Linked DNA regions of Homo sapiens: all the other regions are linked to region 2. Evidence: promoter capture Hi-C in 16 types of primary human blood cells and fetal thymus (Javierre and others, 2016). All regions are on one chromosome and are shown on one strand. Each heading gives the region's core, a stretch centred on a gene start or on the middle of the fragment in contact. The rest is flanking DNA. Distances are from core to core; before and after follow the strand shown. Region 1 overlaps NHEJ1 (non-homologous end joining factor 1). Region 2 holds the start of RESP18 (regulated endocrine specific protein 18). Region 3 overlaps NHEJ1 (non-homologous end joining factor 1). Region 4 overlaps NHEJ1 (non-homologous end joining factor 1).

What was found. The method cuts DNA at HindIII sites, captures the fragments that hold promoters and counts their contacts. A CHiCAGO score of 5 or more calls a contact.
Region 1: a contact is called between a fragment that was not itself captured here and the fragment with the promoter of RESP18 in region 2, in 9 of 17 cell types (erythroblasts, total B cells, naive B cells and 6 more). The highest score is 7.4, in erythroblasts.
Region 3: a fragment that was not itself captured here is called in contact with the fragment with the promoter of RESP18 in region 2 in 7 of 17 cell types (activated CD4 T cells, naive CD4 T cells, total B cells and 4 more); the score reaches 6.6 in activated CD4 T cells.
Region 4: a fragment that was not itself captured here is called in contact with the fragment with the promoter of RESP18 in region 2 in 4 of 17 cell types (erythroblasts, total B cells, neutrophils and 1 more); the score reaches 7.4 in erythroblasts.

What each region holds. Positions count from the first base shown.
Region 1 is chr2:219,090,269-219,092,968 of GRCh38, reverse strand. The region is part of intron 5 of NHEJ1 (non-homologous end joining factor 1); the gene reads left to right. Among named protein-coding and RNA genes, the nearest start is that of IHH, 31 kb to the right of the region's middle. The HindIII fragment of the contact is 183 bases long and covers 1,201-1,383 here.
Region 2 is chr2:219,331,369-219,334,068 of GRCh38, reverse strand. RESP18 (regulated endocrine specific protein 18) reads left to right here and starts at 1,325. Exons shown (of 6, transcript NM_001441699.1): 1 at 1,325-1,545. The coding sequence starts at 1,440. The HindIII fragment of the contact is 5,862 bases long and covers 451-2,700 here.
Region 3 is chr2:219,139,296-219,141,995 of GRCh38, reverse strand. The region is part of intron 5 of NHEJ1 (non-homologous end joining factor 1); the gene reads left to right. Among named protein-coding and RNA genes, the nearest start is that of NHEJ1, 20 kb to the left of the region's middle. The HindIII fragment of the contact is 2,399 bases long and covers 97-2,495 here.
Region 4 is chr2:219,109,147-219,111,846 of GRCh38, reverse strand. The region is part of intron 5 of NHEJ1 (non-homologous end joining factor 1); the gene reads left to right. Among named protein-coding and RNA genes, the nearest start is that of IHH, 50 kb to the right of the region's middle. The HindIII fragment of the contact is 3,206 bases long and covers 1-2,700 here.

The DNA of each region.
Region 1 (2,700 bases), core at 43-2,542, 240 kb after region 2:
GCTTAAGTAAAAACGGGTTTTACTGAATAGGCACAGGGAGGTCTCTTGGTACCTAATTTCAGATGGCTACCCATGCCTCACAGAAACTGGACAGGCAGCTTCTTTCTCTGGGATCTCAAGATCTCTTATCTCTGCCCCCCACAGCCAATTTGTTTCTACTCCTGCAGACCATTGACTGGCATGTGGCTTTGGCTCCCCTTACTGCTAACTCTGAACTGGCTCTACGTGGTCTTTCTGATTATGCATCCACTGTTACCCAATGAGAGCCTTTACATCTTTACAGCAGGGGTTTTTACCCTGGGTTCGTGAGTTCAGGGTTTCGTGAATGGAATGAGAGGGAAAGTTGCATCTTTATTTCATTAACCTGTAACTGAAATTTAGCATTTCCTTCAATTGTAAATGTAAGCAAAAGACACTGTATATTAGAAGTATCTGTCACCAGTAGAAATCACAGATACTTTCGTATCATTTTATACTGCTGCAGATATCTTGAAATACAGCTTTTGCTGATTACTACTTGAAATTATGGTTATTAGACTCATTGCTAGATCTCATGATTTAATGTGTTAATAAAGAAGCTCATATGTTATAATATTACAGATTAGTTTTAAAATATTTGAATAACATTTCAGTTAATTGGTTTCCTTTGTAATCCTATAATTTTTTTTTTTTTTTGAGGCAGTGTCTCACTCTGTCACTCAGGCTGGAGTGCAGTGACACAATCACAGCTCACTGCAGCCTTGAACTCCCAGGCTCAAGCAATCCTCCCTTCTTAGCCTCTGAGTAGCTGGGACCATAGGCATGTGCCACTCACTACACCTGGCTAAGTTTTCATTTTTTATAGAGACAGAGTCTTACTATGTTGCCCAGGCTGGTCTGCTCTTCTCTCAAAGCAGACTGTACATAGACCTGTATCATAGAACTGAACATATTTTGCTAAACCCACAATCAGTCATTTATTTCTTTGTACCTAGAATAATCTGGCTCAGAGAGGGTGTCAAGTAAAAAGTTCTTGAATGAATAGGTCTGTTTGCTTATGTGGCTTGAAACTTTGTCCCGGATTCTGCTCTCAGGACATTATCTCCTGCTATTAAGCAAAGATTTATTCATTAATTTTATATACACACATACTTCATATATACACACATACTTCATATATACACATACCCTTGTTCATTTAATAACAAATTTAAAGAAGCTTTTTCAACAATCCTTTGAATTTTGTTATCTCCCAGTCCTGGAAAACAGTGTCCCCTTGGCGTTTCCTCAGAGAGTTTGCAGCAGAATATATTTCCTAGAGTCGAATTCAACATTGCTAGACCTCAGGCTAGCTTAGCAGGAAGTAGCCTTTAGGACGAAGTCAGACTCAATGGTAGAGAAGCTTAGACTGTGGGAAGCAGCCATCTGAGAAATTCAGGGCATAGAATTTGAAAGGCGCTGAGGGCTCAGCACTTCCAGTTCAGTCATTTCATCTCTACAGGACTTAGGGAGACTCTTGCCTCCCTATCCCCATGCCCTACCCCACCCTCCACCCCAGCCAATGTGTTTCTTGCCCGATACCGACCATGCTTGCCCTTAGAATGCTGATAGAAATAGCTTTATAAGGAAAGAACTTGCAGAAATGGCTCTGAGGTTATGCTGTTTACCCTAGCTTAAACTCCACAGGAATCTAGGACTGCGGAAAAAAGAACTGAGAAGTCGCCCAAGTTTCAGCTTCTGGCTTTTTGAACTCAGTGAGAGATTGGCAGCCAAAGGCTCCTATCTAACTGGGCTAGTCCTAAGAGAGTCCTCAGCTGGAATTGGGATAAACCTGCATCCCAAAACTTTTTCCACAGATACAGACTGTAAGCTCTATGAGGGCAGTGGCCATGTCTCTACCCCCAAACTGAATTCCCAGCACATACTTCAGTGCCTGGCACATAGTAGATACTTATATTTGCTAGATGAATGGTCCCTGAACTCTAGGGGCTCACAGCCTAATGGGGAAGACAGGAAATGAGTAAATGAATAACTAAAAAGTATAATCACTTGAGGAAAATGAATAGAGTGCTGTAAAAGCACTTCAGATGATATGGTCAGGAGGCCAGAAGAAGTGACATTTAAACTGAGACTTGAAAGATGAGAAGAAACCAGTCACTTGAAGAGGTTGGGGGACACAGATGGCCCCTTAGTAGTAATTCAGAGGAGAAAGTCTTTATGCCTATCTAGATTTTTGTAGGCTATTTGTGGGAAAAGAAGGGCCTACTGTTGATTCACGGTTAGTCTGTTAACTGCTGTCCCCACCCCATGCTGTTCCTTACATATCCAGCTTTGTTTAGTAAGGCCTCAGACCTAGTGCTGTTGACTGGGAATCAAAGGCTCCCGTGTGTGGCTAGAGGTGAGGAACAATTATTTGTTTATGTGTCTCACTCTTCATCTAGACTATGAGCTCCTTGAGGGCAGTGAACCCTGTCTTATCCTTAGGACACAGCATGCTATAGCATATCCTTGGCAATTTTGTTTAATGATTGAATTAATAATAACAGTTAATATTTATTGAGCCCTTCCTATGTGCCAGGCACTATAGGGAGAACTTTACATGCATGATCTCATTTAATCCTCATAATAACTCCATAGTGCAGGCAGTAATATCATTCCCATTCCACAGCTGAAGAAACTAAGGCTTAGAGATGAAGATGAAGTAGTGGATCAGGGATTTGA
Region 2 (2,700 bases), core at 76-2,575:
GTGAAAAAGTCAAATATCTGAACAGAGATTTTGGCAGCTGTCACAGTGTTAGGGTGACTGAGTTTGGAGTTCAGGACCCGTAAAATAGAGAGTTTTGGTAAATGACTTTGGGTTATGTTGAAATCCAAAAAGGACCACACCTTAGCCATAAGCACCATATCCCAGGACTAAGAGATACAGGCTAGAATTGAGAATAGGATGAAGTACTCCTTCCCTAACCAGACTGCCACAGGATCAAGACTTTTTACCAAAAATTTAATTGCCTGCCAGAACAAACTCAAACTATTACCCTTTAAAGATAATAATATAATTCAGATCCTTTGTAATGTATCAACCCCAAATGTTCACTATACAAACCCTTAGGTTTAAGTAATCCACTATCTCGACCTCCCAAAGTGCTGAGATTACAAGCATGAGCCACCATGCCCAGTTTAATAAATGTTTTAAGCTTAATGAAAAAAAATTTAAATGCCAGTCTAAGAGTTAGAAAGCTCACAAACTAGCTTGTAAGTACACAAGAGTGAAAGCAAGAGGTCAGTTAGCTAGTTAGTTACTACAACAACTCAATTTAAAAGAGTACAGTGTCCAAGGCCTGGCATGGTGGCTCATGCCAGTAATGCCAACACTTTGGGGGGCCAAGGTGGGAGGATTGCTTGAGCCTAGGAGTTTGAGATCAGCCTGGGAAACATGGCAAAACCCTGTCTCTACAAAAATAAATAAATAAATAAATAAAATTGGCTGGGCATGGTAGTGTGCACCTGTAGTCCCAGCTACTCTGGAGCCTGAGGTTGAGTAGAGGTCGAGCGGAGGTTGTGGTGATCTGAAATTGCAAGACTGTCTCAAAAAAAAAAAAAAAAAAAAGTACAGTGTGCAGTGGTTTGGACCAAGGCGATGGCAGTGGATGTGGAGTAAAGTGGATGGATGTGCCATATATAATATATAATATATAATATTATATATATATATATAGCAGATCGAACCTATATGATTTCTAAAGGGTTTTAAGTGGGCCAGAGTAAAGAGTGTCAAGGATAATAAAATAAACTAAATTCCTTGAGTGCCTACTGTTTCATCGCTGTTCATATTTGATTCTCACAACAAACCTGAGTAGGTACAACTTGCACCCGTATCTTACGTGCCATCCGTTTCTGCAGCCTTAGGACTGGGAGTACAGGCGGTGGTTCTTGGGACCCAGCTAATGCCCGAAAGGAGCCGGGTCAGGAATTCCAAGAGATGAGGGTGGGGAGGCGGTAGGGGAAGGAGCTGGGGAGGCGACCGCAGGGGCAGGGCCCGCTCACGATTGGCTGAACTGCCGAGGAGGGTTAAACAGATTCGGAGTCGCGGGCTGGTGGGAAGCTGCAGCCCCGCTCAGCCCCTCGGCCGTGGCCGCTACCTTCACTGAGACTTGGCCGGGGAGTGAGCGCGCCGAGCCTGGGAGGATACAGCACCCACTGTGGCCTGGGAGCTCCGAGGGGCTCCAGCTGCTTGTCTGCTTCCTGCTGCTGAACAGCTGCCCGGGGGGCTGCAGCGACACTAGTGCCCACGGTCAGGAGGAACCCTGGGGGGTGCGGGCAGGGCCAAGAAAGCGATCCTGAGAAGTGGGGGTCTGCAGGGGGCCTCAAGGCTAGGAAACTTGGAAGTAAAAGAATGTGCTTAAGGACGTGAGAAGAGAAAAAGGTAGACAGCGTCTAGCGGAAAGAGGCATAGGCTTCAGATAGGCTGGGCATATGGGGTCTGGACTCACGAGAAGTGGGTTCAGGTGAAAATTGGGGATTTGGGAAGAGGTCAGAAAGACAAATGAACAGAGAGAGGTAAAACTGGCCTATGTGGCCACAGGAGAAGCAAGAAAGGCCAGAAAAAGAGTTGACCAGGGCTGCGGGTATCGGGGTCTTGGCTCCAGGGAGAAGGCTGGGCCAGGAGACGAGCCAGGGCTTCCTCGTGCTGTGATCCGGTTTCCAATAAGGGGACCGCTGAGGGAAAGCAGGATGGAGGGGGAATGGGACCATCCTTCTCCCCTTCCCCCGCACCAATCCGCGTAGACCCCGCGCTGACTCACGTGCCAGACTGCGCACACTCGAGAACTCCTGCGCAGAGCGCATGGGGAAGAGAGCGCAAACTCCTAGTCTGTCGCCCCCTCTCCCTGATTTTTGGTTTTAGAGGCCAATGCAGCGGATTCAGGAACAGCTGTGGGAGGAGGCCTGGTGGCAATGAGAGGATGAGGGCCGTGGGGAAGGACCGCCAAGCCTTGCGGAGATGTCTCGCCCACATTCCGCCCAGCGCCGCCGCCACGCTGGCCTCCCCACCTCTCAGCACCACGGACAGCGCCAGGCGCGCTCCGGGTCCACGCCGAGCCCGAGCGGGTCACCACTCCTTCCCACCAGTCCTGGGAACGCTGCCTCAGAGAATCAGCTCCCCTTCCCGAAGCTCTTTCCCTTCTCCTCAGGGTGTTGGAGGTTCCACTACTTCCTTAAGGAGGCTTTCTCATCCCCAAATGTCTCTACTTAAAACTTTGTCACGCTTACCCCCAGGAAATTATTAGACATCCATTTGACTGGGTAGGAGAATTCCCTTTTCTAAAGACCTGTCCAGAATGGCTCATGGTAACTACACTATAGCAAAAAACAGACTGTCCTCCAGCCCTATCTCACTGATCTGGAAGAAGGAAGGTGTGCATAGCATTAGGGGTTCTCTTCCCCAACC
Region 3 (2,700 bases), core at 47-2,546, 190 kb after region 2:
TGAAGAGAGTCACTGCTGCTCTTACGAAGCTAGAGCTTATATCGCCTGGGGAAGATGGGCAATGCTTTAACTTGAAAATTGCCATCTTGTTAAGCTTGTTCACACTTCTAATTGGTTTCTTTGGCTGGCTCTCCGTCTTCTGCCTGCCTCTTAAAGGTTAGTGTTTCCCAGGATCAGGTCCCTGATCCTCTGAGACTTCACTTTCCTTCCTCTGGGTCATCTCATCTAGACCCCAGTGTCAACTATTGTTGGTACATCGCTGAATACCAATTTTATATCTCCACTGTGTTTTAGGCCCATATTTCTTTCTGCATGTTTGGCATTTCCACCTGGATGTCCCACATAAAGCACATCCTAAACATGTCCAAAATGAATTATCTACTCCCCCAGACTATTTCTCTTATATTCCTTATCTTGGGGAATTATACCATCATCCATTCAGTTTTCTAAGCTAGAAATTTGGGAGTCACTCACTTTCCTCTTTGTCCTTACTTTCAAAGCCTAATTTATTGACCGTCTTTTGAATCTGCCTATCTTCTCTATTCTACCTCCCGTTGTCTGAAATTAGCCATTTTTCTCTCCCTTTTCCCCCACTCCCCCCCTGCTTTTTTTTTTTGAGACCAAGTCTCACTCTGTTGCCCAGGCTAGAGTGCAGTGGCACAATCTCGGCTCACTGTAACCTCTGCCTCCTGGGTTCAAGAGATTCTCATGCCCCAGCCTCCTGAGTAGCTGGGACTACAGGCTTGAGCCACCACGCCCAGCTAATTTTTGTATTTTTTGTAGAGATGGAGTTTCACCATGTTGGCCAGGCTGGTCTTGAACTCCTGACCTCAGGTGATCCACCTGCCTTGGCCTCCCAAAGTTTTGGGATTACAGGTGTGAGCCACTGTTCCTGGCCTTTCTGTCCCTTTTTTGGCTTGACCATGCAACAGCCTCCTAACTTGTCTCCTGGTCAGTTCTTATTCCCCTGCAGTTGAATTTGTAGTTTTGTCAGAGTGATGTCTTTGAAACTGAAACTTGATTATGACACTTTTTGCTCAGAGTCCTTTAGTGGCTCCCGGTTTCCTACAGGATAAAGTTCAAACTCCTTGCACGCCACACGTGATCATTTATGATTTGATCCTTTTGACATCTTCAGCCTGCTCCTCTGGCATTCCACTATAACATCTTTAAATACCACCTTGTGGATGAATCTCACATTTATTCTTCACTGTAGGTCTTACCCTGAAACTCCAGACTGCTTGTTTAACATTTTCATGAAGAAGTTTAAAAAATATCTTAAATTCAACACGTCCAAAATTGAACTTCCAGTCGTATGCCCAGATTTACTTTTCCAACAACCCCCTCCCATCTAAGTTGATGGAAGGTTCATTCTTTCACTTTTAGTTGGGTGAAAAAACCTTGGAGTCATCCTGACTGCTGTCCTCTCACTTCCTACAGCCAAAGTCCATCAGGAAATCCTGTTGGCTTTACCTTAAAACTATGCCCGTAATCTCACCTCTGCTGCTACCATACTGGAGCCACCATCATCTCCTACCTGCATTATGGCAAAAGCCTCCTTATTTGTATCCTGCAGCTACTCCTACCCCCTCCTGGCCTATTATCAACAAAGCTATCTTATTAAGTTGCAAGGCACATCGTGATATTCTTCTGCTCAAAGCCCTTCACTGGCTTAACACTTCATTTATAGAGTAAAATCCAAAGACTTTACCATGGCCTATAAAACCCTATATGATCTTATAGAACTCTCTTACCTTTCTGACCTCATCTCCTACAACTTCCTCCCTCATTCACTCCACTGCAGCCACACTGGCCTCTTGCTGTTTTTCTAACACTCTTAAGTGTTTTTCTAACACTCTAACACTGCCTTTAGGCCTTTACATTGGCTGTTCCCTCTGCCTGGAATGTTCTTTCTTCAGATATTTGTGTGGCCAACTTCCTCACTTCCTTAAAGTCTGTATTAGTTATCCATTGCTGTGTAACAAATTGTCCCAAAATTTAATGGCTTAAAATAACAGGCTGGGTGCGGTGGCTTACGCCTGTAATCGCAGCACTTTGGGAGGCCAAGGCAGATGGATCATGAGGTCAGGAAATCAAGACCATCCTGGCTAACACGGTGAAACCCTGTCTCTAATAAAAATACAAAAAATTAGCCGGGTGTGGTGGCAGGCGCCTGTAGTCCTAGCTACTTGGGAGGCTGAGGCGGGAGAATGGCGTGAACCTGGGAGGTCTCAGAGCTTGCAGTGAGCCGAGATCGTGCCACTGCACTCCAGTCTGGGCGAAAGAGCGAGACTCTGTCTCAGAAAACAAAAACAAAAACAAAAAACCCCAAAAAACCAAAAACACATTTATTATCTTGCATGGTTTCTGAGGGTCAGGAATCTGGGAGCAGCTTAGTGGGTGTGATTCTGGCTCAGTGTCTCTCATGATGTTGCAGTCAATATGTCAGCTGGTAACGCAGTCATTGTAACATCCGGATAATTCATATCCAAGCTTTCTCATGTGGCTGTTGGCAGGAGGTGCCATTTCTTGCTATGTGGCCTGTCCATAGGGCTACTCACAGGACCTGGTTTCCTCCAGAGCCAGTGATCCAAGAGACAAAGACCAAGGCCAGGTGGGGTGGCTCATGCCTGTAATCCCAGCACTTTTGGAGGCTGAGGCGGGCAGATCACCTGAGGTTAAGAGTTCAAGACCAGCCTG
Region 4 (2,700 bases), core at 126-2,625, 220 kb after region 2:
TGTGGTCAGTCCCATTTATAAAGCTGGTAAATATGGGACCGGTTTCTGTCCCCTCCAAAGGTCAATATTTGTACAGAGTTTAATTTTAACTTAACAAGCAGTTGTTTTCTGCAGCTGCCCTGGTGTGTTGTGTTGTGTGTGCTTTCCTTTCCCCTTCTTTCCCACTGACTGTATGTATCTCTCTGTGTGTGTGTGTGTGTGTGTGTGTGTGTGTGTGTCTGTATTCACACTGTAGACTTAATTCTGGTCTTCAGAACCTGCAGCCCACTGGCTTGGCCACACTGTCTCATGAAAGACATTTGGGGCTAAAGGGATCTAGATAAGGGGAGTGGGCCAAGCGTGTGGGATAACTAGATTTTTTCTAGGGGTCAGGGGACAGAGAAGACTGTTTATTAGTATTCTGTAATGCTAATGTCATCACCATATCTTTCCCTTGTAGGAGAGTTTCTAGAATGCAGGATTTGAGAGCTGGTCCCCTCTTTTAAAAGCTGTACCATCCCCCTACTTTGCTTTTTAAGGAGTGTTAACCCCTTATCCAAGAAACCTGGGTTCTAATTTTGTCAGCTGCCTTTTGAGTAAATGAGGAGAATGGGTGAGATAAATCTGGCTTCCACCTTTTAGTAGTCTATGCTTTTATGAATAATAGAGCATTGGTCTGGGTATCACGAGTAAATTCTATTCCAGTTCTAAAATCATCTTTAAAATGATTTTCCCCCCTCTGGTCCTTAGTTAAGGAATATGACCTTTGTTCCTTACAAGGATTTTGTGAGGATGGGTGATGTTTTATTTAAAGGAACTTTGAGCTGTTTCAGTAAAGAGAAATACTTTAAAACTAAGCTCATCTTATCTACCCATGTCCCTTTTCACCAAGCTATTTAAGTTCTTTCTGCTTGCGAGCATGTTCCTGGCTTGGACAGTTCAGTCCAACATGCAGTCAGCCCAGACTCCTCAGAGCCAAAGGATCTGAAATGGAGGAGGAGCGCTGTGATGAACAGTAGCATATGGACTCCATCCACGGTGGCCGCCTCCTTCCTGTTTCTTGAACATCTGAGACCGGTGCCCCACCTCAGGACCTTCTCACTTGCCGTTCCCTCTGCTAAGAATGGTCCTTCCCAGATATCTGCATGATTCATTCCTTCACTTCCTTCAGGTCTTTTTTCAAGTGATACCTTCTAATTGAGGACTTCCCGGCCACCCCATCTAAAATTTCAGCCCCACCTCCACCCCCACCCCACCAGCACTTTCTGTCTCTGTCTCTGCTGTACTTTTCTCCATAGCACTTACCATAACCCAATATACCACACATTTCTACTTTTTTTTTTTTTTGGCAGCATCTCACTCTGTTGCCCAGACTGGAGTGCAATGGTGCAAACACAGCTCACTGCAGCCTCAACCTCCTGGGGTTCAAGCGATCCTCTCACCTTAGCCTCCCGAGTAGTTGGGACTACAGGTGCACCCTACCACACCTGGCTAATTTATATATATATATTTTTTGTAGAGACGGGATTTTTCCATGTTACACAGGCTGGTTTTGAACTCCTGGGCTCAAGCAGTCCTCTTGCCTTGGCATCCCAAAGTGCTGGGATTACAGGGTGCAGTGGGCACCCCTTAGATTCTGCTTTTTAATTACGTTGATTTTACCCCATGTGAAGACATGGATTCTCAATGAGGGCAGGGATTTTTGTCTGTGTGTTCATTGCTGTCTCTCCAGTGTCAATAGAACAATGCTTGGCACATGTAAGCTCTCAAAATGTATTTGTTGAATACATGGAAGGAAGGAAGGGAGGGAAGGAAAAGTAGGCTCTTTAAGCTCATGATTCTTCATAGGGGGTACATACCCAATCGGGGAGATGGTTAGAATTATTTGGAAGCCTTTTCAAACTATTCATACCCTTACCAAAAAATTTTTGATATGCACATATCAAAAAACTATCCACCCCAAGATAGTTAAGGATTATTGCATAATATACTGTCGTTACTGATGAAAATCTGTGGTATGCCTTTTATGTGTTAGGTGGAAAAAGAGAACCACTATCTTAGGCAGTCTGACAGGGCCTGTTTCCTCCTGGCCTGTGAATTGCAGGCAGTCCTGAGGGCTAGGAGGAGATTTGATGTTTTTCTCTCCTTTCTCACCTTTGCCTACCTCATATATACTCCCAACCCACGCCTCCTTGCCCCTCCCCTTTCCTTTATTCTCTGCCAGACACCAGCCCGCCTCCAGCACGCAGAGTCTGCCTGCATTGTGAATGGTTGTAGTTGGGACACAGAGAGCCCTTGATGCAGCAAGTGCTTCTTGTGACATCAGCTCTGTGGCTTTAGGGGGAAGGCTGTGGCTCTGGGTCCCCAAGGGAGGGGGCTGTTTTTCTCTTCTTGATCCTTCACGTTGGTGCCCGTCTGACTTATAAACTTTAATGGCCAGTTTTAAAGGTTACTGCCATGGGGCACCTTTGTTGCCAGTTTTAGTTTTTTAATTTGGAAACTTTTTTTTTATCCTTTGTGGTCTTGGGAGGAAAGATTTGGGACCATTTGGGGCTGGGAATTGGTATTTGTGAGTGATGATGAGATAGCACAGCAGCATTCTGGTTCTGGCTCCAATAACCAGAATCCCTGGCATATTATCCAGTTGCCCAAATGAACCCCAAAATGAGAAGGAAAAGACTGGCATTGAGATGTGTAGTCTTAGGCAGCATCAGTCAAGGA